Regions from separate parts of the Homo sapiens genome. Here region 2 is linked to region 1. The links are contacts of gene promoters, found by promoter capture Hi-C in human tissues and cell types (Jung and others, 2019). All regions are on one chromosome and are shown on one strand. Each heading gives the region's core, a stretch centred on a gene start or on the middle of the fragment in contact. The rest is flanking DNA. Distances are from core to core; before and after follow the strand shown. Region 1 holds the start of POM121L2 (POM121 transmembrane nucleoporin like 2). Region 2 has its middle 5.6 kb from the start of TRQ-CTG6-1.

Region 1 (6,401 bases), core at 663-3,162:
GAGGAGGGGTCTGCTTGGAGGAGAAAGGAGCTATCATGGGCGTAGTTTTAAGTGGATCTATGCTGCCAAAGATAGGCTTGAAGGTAGGAGTTAAGGTACCCTGAATTGTGGAAAGGGAAGAGATTGAAGATGCTGCAGCTGTGACTGAAATTCTGGAATATGAGGAGCTTCCAATCTCGCTGTTGTGCAGGGGCCCCAAAATCGGTTTTAACATGAGGTGAGCAGAAGTTGCATCAGGAGGTGCAGATGCAGAAAGATGGGATGTTGGGCTACTCACCATTCCAAGCAAAGTACTTTGGATGGTGGGTGGTGCAGGTGGGTCTGGGGGCATGGGAGACCTGTCAGCCTGAGAGGTTGAAGGCGGCCAGGTGGTGTCAGTAACTGGTAATGTGGGAGAGGTGGGGGTCAGCAGGATGAAAGTAGCTGTGGGCTTTGAGTCTGGAGAGGTGCCTGGAAGGAGCTCTGACTGTGAGCACCCAGGTGGGGTCGGTAGGCTGGGTGTCTTCAAAGGAGAATGGGCCACACTGGTTGCCTCTCCCGTGGACTGTGGAGAGGCCAGTGGACCTAGAGACTTCTGCATTTTTCTTAAGTTTTCCAACTGAGGATTTGCTCCCTGGGTTAGATCTGTTTCTGAAGAAGGCAGAGCAAGAGACAAGGAAGGCTGAATAGCAAGCCAAGTCTCAGGGAAAGGGTCTGTGTTGACCTCAGTTGTATCTTCTCCTGCGTTGTTGCTTACCTGTAGCTCAGCTTTCTTCCCCAAAGTCAAGTTCTCATCAGAGACTGCATAACCAAGCTGGGGAGGTGGGATCTCTGACACCAGGTTCTCAGGGCTAGACGGCAGCTGTGGAATCTTCTGGTTTTGCTGCCCAGAACTTTCAGATCCTCCTAGGGACTCAAAATCTGATACCAGTGGGACTGGAGAGGAAGGCCGATGACAACTTTTTTCCTTTTTTATTGGCCACTCTGGTGTCTCGAATGATACACTGGGAACACTTCTCTTCCAAGGGTCTGAGAAATTTCTGCAAGAGCTGTAAGAGCTGCCAATAGCATTCCTTTTGGAGCTGAGGGTGCCACCTCTGTATATGCTGGCCAAGGAGCTCATGGAGGAGCAATTGGGCCTCTTAGTCAAGCTGTGATCTGAGCCCCAGGAGTGGAGACTTCTCTTCAGCGGCCCAGGCCTGGGCACAAAAGAAGTGAGGGTTCCATTTTTCATCAGGGGCTTAAATGCCGATGGTCTGGTCTCTGGACTCCTTCTCTTACTGTCCAGACTCTCAGGGAATAGTGGTTCTTCCAACCTCCCTTTCCCTTTTCTGCACTCTCTGAGGGCCCTCAACACTGTCTCCTTTGAACATGGATCTGCGAGCTCCTCAGAGGGCGGGAGTCCTGCAAGGGCAATTACATCTTCAGGAGAAGTGGAAGGGGGCACTCTCTGGTCAGGAGGAGTGATCCTGATGGTCACTGGGCTCCAAATTGGCCTGGGATGTCGAAGAGACCAAATAGTCCGCTTTAAGTAACTTTCCCACCAGTCTGAAGGGAGAGGCCCCAGGGGGGAATTCTGGGACTTCTTCATGGGAAAGCGCCTCCAGGCCTCGTTGGCCAGCCACGTGGTTGGATTGGCAGGATCCAGGTTTGGCCGCCTCCTCACAGGTCTATACCGTGGGGCAGGGTGGGCGCGGTGGACGAACTGAACCCGATGAACTTGGTGAAGGGGCTGAGGTGGCCGGCGTTTCGTGGGCCTCTCGGGCAAGTCGGTGCGCACCTGGGCTGGGGACGAGGGCGAAAGTTCCAGTTTGCTCAGGAAACTGCCCATGAGGAGAGATGAGGCGCGGGCAGTGAGTTCAAGCACGGTTTTGGCTTCCGAGGTTTCGGACGTCTGCAGAATCGGACAGAGTCGAAGAGCGCAGTGTTCGGTTGACGGTTGGGATTCACGCGCTAGGAAAGCGCGAGTCTCAGGGTGCTTAGCACTCTCCAGGCCCGGCACCCGCGGGAACGGGGGACACGCGGGACTTCGGCAGTCCCAGTAACTTGCTTTGCTGTTCTGAGACCTCAGCGGGGCGGTCAGACCTCTGCTGTCTCCGCAGCGAGTTGCAGTACTTGGCGCGGGGAGAGGAACTCGAGAGGAAGCTCACTGCGCCTCGCCCCTGGCGTCGGCAGCGGCTGTCTGGGACCCTGTGGTCCGGATTCACCAAGTGGCGCAGAGCTGGAATCGAGTGGGTGCACAGTTTCCAGGCTCCGACTATTACTGGCCTCGAAGGTACAGGCTCAGGCGGCTCAGGGCCCCGGCGCAGATCTGTCGGCCCGCGGGATCCCCGGAGTCTGAGTGGGGAGCACTATCCGCACCCCGTAGAGTGAGTGCGGGCGGCTTTCGCAGGTGCTCAGGACTGGAGATCTGGACCGGTGGCTGTGCCGCCCGGATGGCATTTGTGGCACTAGCAGTCGGGAAAGCAGCTGATTGAGGATTTCCGCGTTTCTCTTTTTTTGCAGATCGTGACGCCGCCAGTAGGTGTCAGTCATTTGCCGCACAGCCACCTTTGAGATCCACCTGTGTCTCCCAGCGGCCGAATCCAGGTTTCCTTCCTATTCGCACTTGGAGAACTCATGCAGATTGCCGTCAGGAGTGGCCTCAGAGATCCGGAGTGGGCGAATGGGAAATCGCATCTTACGGCCCAGAACCTGAGCCCTCCACAAGCACTTGGCTCAGTCCCTTGCTCAGGCCACCTCCTGTTCTCTTCTGCTCTGTGAAAGACACTGTTAAGAGAATGAAAAGACACGCCACAGACTGGAGAAAATATTTGCATAATACGTATGTATCTGCTGAAGCACTGGTATACAAAATATACATAGAATGTTAAAACTCATAATAAGGTAAAAAATTAATGGGCAAAATATTTAAACAGAAACCCCGCCAAAGAAGATATGCAGATGGTAAACAGTATAAAAAGATGCCAAACATCATTGACATATGCTATATGTCAATATTTAGCTATATATAACTAAACATCAGTAAATACTTCTGATTGCAATTTAAACATCAGTAAGATACCATAATTGCAAATTAAACATCAGTAAGATATTACTACACACCATTCAATTGGCTAAAATTCAAAACACCACATGCTAAGGAGGAGGTGGAGTAACAGGTACTCTCATTCATTACTGATGAGAATGCAAAATGGTACAGCCACTTTGGAGGACAGTATGGCAATTTCTTACAAAGCTAAAACACAGTCCTACAATACAATTCAACCACCACAATCCACGTGTTTATCCAAATGAGCTTAAAGTGAATGTCCACATAAGGACCTGCATGTGAATGTTTATAGAAGTTTTATTCATAGTTGCCAAAAATTGGAAGCAACCAAGAAGTCCTTCAACAGGCAAATGAATAAACTGTGGCATAACCATACAATGGAATATTATTCAACACTAAAAAGAAATGCACTATCAAGTCACGAAAAGATATAGAGGAACCTAAAATCCATATTGCTAAGTGAATGGAACCATCTGAAAAGGCTACATATGACTTCAAATATATGACAATCTGGAAAAGGCAAAACAATAGAGATAGCAAACAGAGTGCAACCGTGGTTGCAGGAGAGGTGGTAAAGAAATGTGGGATACCATTAAGCACACCAACATACACAAAATGAAAGCACTAGGAAAGGAAAGAGAGAAAGGAGTAGAAAAAATTGTCAAAGAGAGTGGCTGAAAACTTCCCAATCTAATTGAAAAACATTAATCTACATGTCCAGAAAGCGCAACAAATTCTACATAGGATTATACAAAGAGTTCCACAAACAGACATGTCAAGTAAAAGCGCTGAAAGACAAAGACAAAGAGAAAATCTTGAAAGTAACAAGAGAAAAATGACTCATCACTTACAGAAGAACCCTAAACAAATTAACAACTGACTTCTCATGTGAAACAATGGAGGCCAGAGGCAGTGGGATAAGATATTCAGTGTTCAACAAAAAATACTGTCACCCCAAAGTTCTACATCTAACAAAGCTACCTTTCAAAAATGAAAGCAAAATAAAGACATTCCCACATAAACAAAAACAGAGAATTTGTTGTTAGAAGACCTGCCTTAGAAATACTAAAGGAAATTATTCAGACTGAAGGTGACACCATCTGGTAATTCAAACACACATTTAAAACAAGAGCACTGGTAAAGGTAATCACGCAATTATAAAAGACAGTATAAATGTGTTCTTATCTTAACTGATTCAAAAAGTAATTGTACAAAACAATATGCATATTATGTACAAAACCGTATGCTATGAGGGCCTATAGCGTATAGAAATGTAATATATCTGCTAATAACAGCACAAAGGAGGTGGGTGAGAAGAAAGCTGCACTGGGCTAAGGAAATAACTCCTGATAGTAAGACAAATTTATAGGAATAAATAAAGAAACCAGAAATGATAAATAATAAGATTAATATAGAATAAGCTATATATATATACACACACACAATTTTTTCTCCTTTTGTTTCTCTCACCTTATTTAAAACACATAAAATTATATAAATTAATAATTGTAATAATGTTAGGTTTGTAATATTTATAGTTGTAATATTTATAACAATAATATGATTAAAAGGGAGAAATAGGAGAAAGAGCTATATGGGATTGAGATTTTTATATCTCACTGGAATTAAGTTAGTATAAATCTGAAAGTGTTCTGATAAGGTATATGACAAATAAGTCCTAGGAATTATTGAATTATTTCCTCTGAAGAAATAATTCAAAATTTATAGTGGAAAAATCATCAAAGAAATTAAATGCTACAGTATAAAATATTTGCTTAATGCAAAAATGGAATATAGGAGGAATGGAAGAACCAAAAAGGCATGAGACATACAGAAAATAAAAAGTTAAATACCAGACAAATCCAAATATATCAGTAATAATAATGTTATATGTAAATATATTAAGCAATTGAATCAAAAGGCAGAGACTGTCAGGGTGGATAAAGAAACAGTATTCAGCTATCTTTTGTCTAGAGAAGACACCATTTACATTTAAAGATACAAGTAAATTGAAAGTAAAAGGATGGAAAACATATGTCATGCAAACTTCATCCAAAAAAAGCTGTAATGACTATACGAGTAGACAAAGTAGACTTTAAAACAAATAATGTTACTAGGGACAAATAAGGACAGAAAGGGCTAATCCATCAGGAAGATATCACAATTATAAACATCTATGCAATTAATAAGAGCACCAAAATACATAACGACAAAAGTGACAGAAATGAAGAGAAAAATAGACAATGCAAAAATAATAGTTGGAGTCCTCAGTGCCCCACTTTCAGTAATGAATAGAACAACTAAGAAATAGATCAGTAGGGAAATACAAGACTTGAAGAATGCTATAAACCAACTAGACCTAACAAATATTTATAGAATCTCCATTAAACAGCAGCAGAATGTACATTCTTCTCAAGAGCATATGGAACATTCTCTGAGATAGATCCTATGCTAGGTCATAAAACAAATCCAAATAAATTGAAAAGGATAGAAATAATGCAAAGTATGTTTGTCTGATCACAATGGAATGAAATCAGAAATCAAACACAGAGAGAAATTTAAAAATCCACAAATAAGTGGAAATTAAATTTCTAAATAGCCAGTGGGTTAAAGAAGAAATATTAAGATAAATTAGAAAATATTTGAGATAAATGAAAATAAAGAAACGACATACCAAAACTTATGGGATTCAGGTAAATTAGTGTTTAGAGGAAAATTTATAGCTATAAATGCCCATATTAAAAAAGAAGAAAAATATCAAATGAGTAAACTAAGTTTTTACCTTAAGACACTGGAAAAAGACCAAACTAAACAGAAGCAAAATTCAGGATAACAGTGAAATTAATGAAGTTAATAATAGAAAAATGTCAAGAAAATCAATGAAATGAAAAACTAGCTCTTCAAAAAGATCAATAAAATTAACAAACCTTTAGATAGAGTGACCAAGAAAAAAAGAGAACTGAAATTATTGGAATCCAAAATGAAAGAGTGAACATTACTACTAACCATATAGAAATAAAAAGACTGTAAAGGACAGCTGCGAAAAACTGTATGCCAAAACATTAGATAACTTAGATGGAATAGACAAATCCCTGTAATGATGCTAACTACTGAAACTGACTCAAGAAGAAATAGACAATCTGACTAGACCTGTAATAAGTAAAGAGATAAATTAGTAATAAAAAAACTATATACAAATAAATGTCCAGACTTAGATGGCTTCAGTGTTGAATTCTACCAAACACTTAAAAGAATTAATACCAACTCTTCACAAACTCTTCCAAAAAACAGAAGAGGAGGAAACACTTCTCAACTCATTCTACAAGGCCAGTACCAGTATCCTTATACCAAAACCAGGCAAAGCCATCAC
Region 2 (5,727 bases), core at 21-2,520, 470 kb after region 1:
AGGAAAATAAGGTCTGGAGGCAGGGAACATAAGGCCAATTCATACTTCAGCTATAAAAGGAAATATCCTCTCCATAGGGCATATGCTGTAAATGACTTTGTAACTTTACCTCATCCTGTCTGTTTATATAGGGCTTCCGAAGTAACAAATAAGAATTCTCTAGGGGTTAAACTCCTGAAAATTCTGTAACGGGGCCTTTGAGCCCCTAGGTTCAGGTCCACTCCCACACTGTGGAGTGTACTTTCATTTTCAATAAAACCCTTAATTCCTTCATTGCTTTGTTTGTGAGTTTTGTCCAATTCTTCGTTTAAGACGCCAGAACCTGCACACCCTCCACCGTTAACAGTTACCTAAAATGGTGTTGGTGGTAAGAGACTTGGGGGAAATGGAGTGCAAGGGATATGGGAGGCCACTTCTCTGAGTTTACCTTTTGTTAGACCTTTAACTTTTGAAAGCGTGTGAATGCTTTACCTTTTTTTTTTTCTTTTTTTTGAGACAGAGTCTGACTGCGTCACCCACACTGGAGTGCAGTGGAGCGATATGGGCTCACTGCAATCTCCGCCTCTCAGGTTCAAATGATTCTCTTGCCTCAGCCTCCCGAGCAGCTGGGATTACAGGCACGTGCCACCTTACCTGGCTAGTTTTTGTATTTTTAATACAGATGAGGTGTCACCATATTGGCCAGGCTGGTCTTGAACTCCTGACCTCAGGTGATCCACCCACCTCAGCCTCCCAAAGTGCTGCAATTACAGGCATGAGCCACCGTGCCCGGCCAACCTACATTTTCAAAAACTGTTAAGTAAGGATGGGTAGTGGAGAAAACTAAGGTTGAAAGCAAGTTAAAGCAAATGAACTCAATTTTATTCCATAGTACGACTACATGGAAAGGAAAATAACATAATTTGTGGACAGGGCATTTGACAGTACACCTTCACTCTTTGGCCAAGAGAGTGAGGATGGTAAGGAGACAGGGGTGTGTGTATGGAGAAATGCAAACAAATCTTTAACTCTATTTATTTATTTGGTTAGTTGTTACAATCACCTACTGAACCTCTTTTAATGGATAGTTTTTGTTAGTAGATGGGCAAAGCAATTCCAAAACTATTGTATGTGTATTATATGATACAGCAGGTGAGTAAATATGCTAATCTTGTTGGAATTAGGGGTCTCAATGTGGAAAAAGGGACACATACAAATATAGAATGGGAGAATATAAGAAAGAATCCTGAAGAGATGAATGGATTGAAATGGGAGGTATGGGTGTGAGCTCATGATTTTTTTTATTTTTTATTATTTTTTATTATTTTATTATCATTTTATTTTTTTTTGGAGACAGGGTCTCTGTCCCCCAGGCTGGAGTGCAGTGGCGTGATCTCGGCTCACTGCAACCCCCGCCTCCCAGGTTCAAGCGATTCTCCTGCCTCAGCCTCCCGAGTAGCTGGAATTACAGGCACATGCCACCATGCTCACCTAATTTTTTGTATTTTAGTAGAGGCGAGGTTTCACCGTGTTGCCCAGCCTGGTTTCGAGCTCCTGAGCTCAGGTGATCCATCTGCCTTGGCTTCCCAAAGTGCTGAGATTAAAGGCGTAAGCCACCTCACCAAGCCGAGCTCATGATTTCTAAAATATGTATATGTATTTGTATGGGCATGAATACATGCGCATATGTGTATATATGCACATGCACATGTGTAAGTATATATGATTATATGTGTATACATGCACATGTATTTCCTAGGTGTTTCCATTAAAAGGACCAAGAAGCAAATATCATAGAAGCAGTTAGTACACTATGCCCCCGGATATTCCTCTCTAATACTCTTCCCCACTGAAAGAAATCAGGAAAGTACTGAGAAATGGCTGAATTTTGGGCTGGGGCAGGGTAGATGCAAATTAAGTCTGGAACAACTTGTTATGCAGAAAATAAGAACATGTTCAAAAGAATGATTGTGGCACTTTGGGGGGCCGAGGCAGGCGGATCACAAGGTCAGGAGATCGTGACCATCCTGGTCAACGTGGTGAAAACCCATCTCAACTAAAAATACAAGAAAAATTAGCTGGGAGTGGTGGCATGCGCCTGTAATCCCAGCTAATCGGGAGGCTGAGGCAGGAGAATCCCTTGAACCAGGGAGGTGGAGATTGTAGTGAGCCAAGATGGCACCACTGCACTCCAGCCTGGCGACAGAGTGAGACTCCGTCTCATTAAAATAAAAAAAAAAAATGATAGTAGCAAGCTACAAGGATCCAGAGGCCACTCGAATGGTTTTCCACTATGAGCAGGTACAGGCAAAGCAACCTCCAAAGTCCCAGGGAGATGAGAGGCCAAACAAAGTTTGACAAATCCAGTTTCTCAGAAAGAAACATTTAATAAAGACTTACAAACAGAAACCACATCTTGGGCTGCAGCCCGAGAGGGTGGATCCCTGCACTCACCCTGCAGAAAGTATCCTTTCTATAGCAAGCTTTTAGGGTAAAATATGAACAGCTGATTACACCTCAGACTGTCTCGCAAAACCCATGGCCACTGGGGAAGTTAGATAAGCAATTTTATGAGGGGTTATTCATGCTACATACATTGTTTTTGACCTTGCTGCAGAATACCTTGGTATGCAGGAGTCAAATATTAGTCATTATGATTGTTTTACTTCAAGATGGCTTTACTCCTGCAAGGCAAGAGGCTATGTTCCCAAAAAGGGGCTCTCCCTAATTAAATATGGGTAAAGTTGAACATCAATATAATTAAGGACAATAATGAGTTATAAATCACTGGGGAGAAAAGATTCCATGAGTCCATATCAATGATAGACATTTAAGTAAAATGGAGAAAAGGGAGGACTCTTGCTTAAAATAGAATGTTGTGTGCAGACTAGTAAATAAGTGGGGAAGCCAGGGAACACTTTATACTTTGATGATGCTCCCTTAACCTGCTGCATCTCCACCGTCAGTTCTCACACTTGACTTCCAAGCATGAGCTATGGTGAATTTTTTTTCTGCCCAAACTCCACCTCCCACAACACTCTTTAGCCCTCTCCTCTGCCCTCACTTTATTTGCTTTAGTTCAGTTCTCATTCCTCCGATCTCAACTTGACTTTAATGAGGCTTCTCTGGCTTCCATTATCTCAGCTTAGCTGCCTCCATCTATAATTTCTCAGCACCCAAACTGCCCTCATCATAACACCACACGTTTTAGTTTCTTTTTAATGTCTCTCTCTTACCCTCCAGCAAGCTATCCCAGTGCAGGGACCAGTCTTGAGATCTTGTTCCCTTTAGAGTCCCCATTGCTTAACACAGTGCCTAGATCAGGATAAGAGTTCATCAACACTTTGCTGGGGGTAAGACTTTCACCTAGTTATGATCTTCACCAGAACCCAGGATGGCTCAGTTTTACATTTTGTCCCAAGGCTGTCTGCACTGGTTGTTCCCAAATTTCTTCTCTCCATTCTTCCTTCTTCACTAATCCCAACCCTGCTTGCTTTTAAAGGGCACGTGTTTAACCATGATTAAAATAGAAGAGCTTGTGGAGTCACTGAAAGATGGGAACCTGTTTGCATGGTAAGGATTGAATTCACGATGGAAAAAGGTTCTCGTTCACATGATTTTTGGCCAGTGTCCTCTGGAGAAAGAGATCCACACGTGCGATTCTATATTTAGTTGTATACATTTAGTCGTTATTTGCAGAGGCCTCATCTGCTTCAGTGACCAGCACCTGGAGGAGTTATCAAAAGTTTGTGGAAATGAATGGAACATTTTGAGGCCTCACCCATAGTAAGCAAAGACTTACAAGGAACCTGTTTTCCATTCACCAGCCATTTCATTCCCAAGGCTTCACAAAGGAGAGCTTGTCCTCTCAGTAATCCTGACTCCTTTCCACTTCTCAGAAAGACTACGTTCTGCTGTCCACATCGCTGCTTTGCTCAAGGGAAAGTCTGGCCAGGGGCTGGGGGGTGCAAGGCCCTGGTAGTGCAAGTAGACATCTCTCTGAAAAGCTGTCATTGTCACATTGCAGGTCATGCGTTCTCACATGCGCTGCATTTGGGAAACTGACCTTTACTTCCCCAGGTCACACCAGCTGGGATGATTTTCACCTTTGGTGTTGGAAAAGATTTTTCGTGTCTTGTTAGTTTTAGACGAGAAATATAATGAGGTCTCCCCATAAAAGTCTGAAATCTTCCCATTTGTTAGGATCATTCCCTTGCCACCTCCAGGGTTTTACAGTTTGGAATTTCAGGAGGAGAAATTCACTCTCTCTCCTGCCTCCGTGCTTGCAAGTCATGAACAATTCTTAGCCACCCTCGTTCTGGGTTTGTTTGGCGGAGAAACTCAATGACGGAAGCACATTCTCACCTGTGCTGTTCTGATGAGGCTAAAATCAAAGACTTTCTCAAGTGTGTGTTTCTATTTGGGGCAAACTTCACGCAGAAAGTCTGAATTCTGCAGGGACCATTTTTGTTTTGTTTTGTTTTGTTTTTGCTGCTAACCATCTGAGTTCACGAGGCAGTGAGCCTTCTTACAAATGAACTACATTCCCCAGCATCCAGGTTTTACTTTTAGTTTTTAATGAGAAAGCAGAGGTAATAGAAAATCAGAAAAAACTCTCTCTTTAGGAAATAAATCAGCTTATAATTAAATGTAAACCATGATGCAACCTCAAAAGACCTAAATGCTTTTGAAAACCAGTTATGGTGGTGTCAATTTCATTTGAATGCTTATAAGCAAAAGGAATTTAGGAACTAGAAAACTGATTAGCAAATTACTAATCCTGTTGAAACAGCAGTCCCAAGTAAAGTTACTTTGATTGAGCTCGGTGATAATTTTTTTTTTTTTTTTTGAGACGGAGTCTCGCTCTGTCACCCAGGCTGGGGTGCAGTGGCGCGAGCTCGGCTCACTGCAAGTTCCGCCTCCCGGGTTCACCCCATTCTCCTGCCTTAGCCTCCGGAGTAGCTGGGACTACAGGCTTCCGCCACCACGCCAGGCTAATTTTTTGTATTTTTAGTAGAGACGGGGGTTTCACCGTGTTAGCCAGGATGGTCTCGATCTCCTGATCTCGTGATCCGCCCCCCCTTAGCCTCCTAAAGTGCTGGGATTACAGGCGTGAGCCACCGCGTCCGGCCGTCGGTGATAATTTTTTCTGCTGCATTTTCTTGCCATTCATTGTAAAGTTAGAGGAATTATCTTGTCAAATTGTTTCTGTGAGATTGTTTTCTCAATCAGAATCATATAGGTTTCCTTTTTTTTTTTTTTTTTTTTTGACAGATTCTCACTCTGTTGCCCAGGCTGGAGCGCAGTGGTGCGATCTTGGCTCACTGCAACCTCGGCCTCTCGGGCTCAAGCTATCCTCCTGTCTCAGCCTCCTGAGTAGATGGGATTACAGGTGCCTGCCACCACGCCTGGCTAATTTTTGTATTTTGGCAGAGACAGGGTTTTGCCATGTAGCCCAGGCTGGTCTCGAATTCCTGAGCTGAGGTGATCCACCTGCCTCAACCTCCCAAAGTGTTAGGGCATGAGCCACTGCTCCTGGCCTCACAATCATATAGGTTTTCAAATGGCATCAAGATTTATAAAACTTGGGCCGGGTGCGGTGGCTCACGCCTGTAGTCCCAGCGCTTTGGGAGGCCGAGGCGGGCCGATCACGAGGTCAAGAGATCGAGACTATCCTGGCCAATATGGTGAAACCCCATTTCTACTAAAAATACAAAAATTAGCTGGGCGTGGGGGCACGCATCTGTA

Evidence for each region. The method cuts DNA at HindIII sites, captures the fragments that hold promoters and counts their contacts. A contact is called where the count stands out against the background at its distance.
Region 2: a contact is called between a fragment that was not itself captured here and the fragment with the promoter of POM121L2 in region 1, in 1 of the 25 tissues and cell types used here (pancreas).

What each region holds. Positions count from the first base shown.
Region 1 is chr6:27,310,361-27,316,761 of GRCh38, forward strand. POM121L2 (POM121 transmembrane nucleoporin like 2) reads right to left here and starts at 1,913. Exons shown (of 1, transcript NM_033482.4): 1 at 1-1,913. The coding sequence starts at 1,810. LOC105375107 reads left to right here and starts at 1,809. Exons shown (of 3, transcript XM_011515048.2): 1 at 1,809-1,832; 2 at 1,963-2,254; 3 at 2,485-3,376. The coding sequence starts at 1,809. The coding sequence ends at 2,852. RefSeq lists a silencer at 1,970-2,264. The HindIII fragment of the contact is 18,009 bases long and covers 1-6,401 here.
Region 2 is chr6:27,782,964-27,788,690 of GRCh38, forward strand. No RefSeq gene overlaps it. Among named protein-coding and RNA genes, the nearest start is that of TRQ-CTG6-1, 5.6 kb to the right of the region's middle. The HindIII fragment of the contact is 6,049 bases long and covers 1-4,295 here.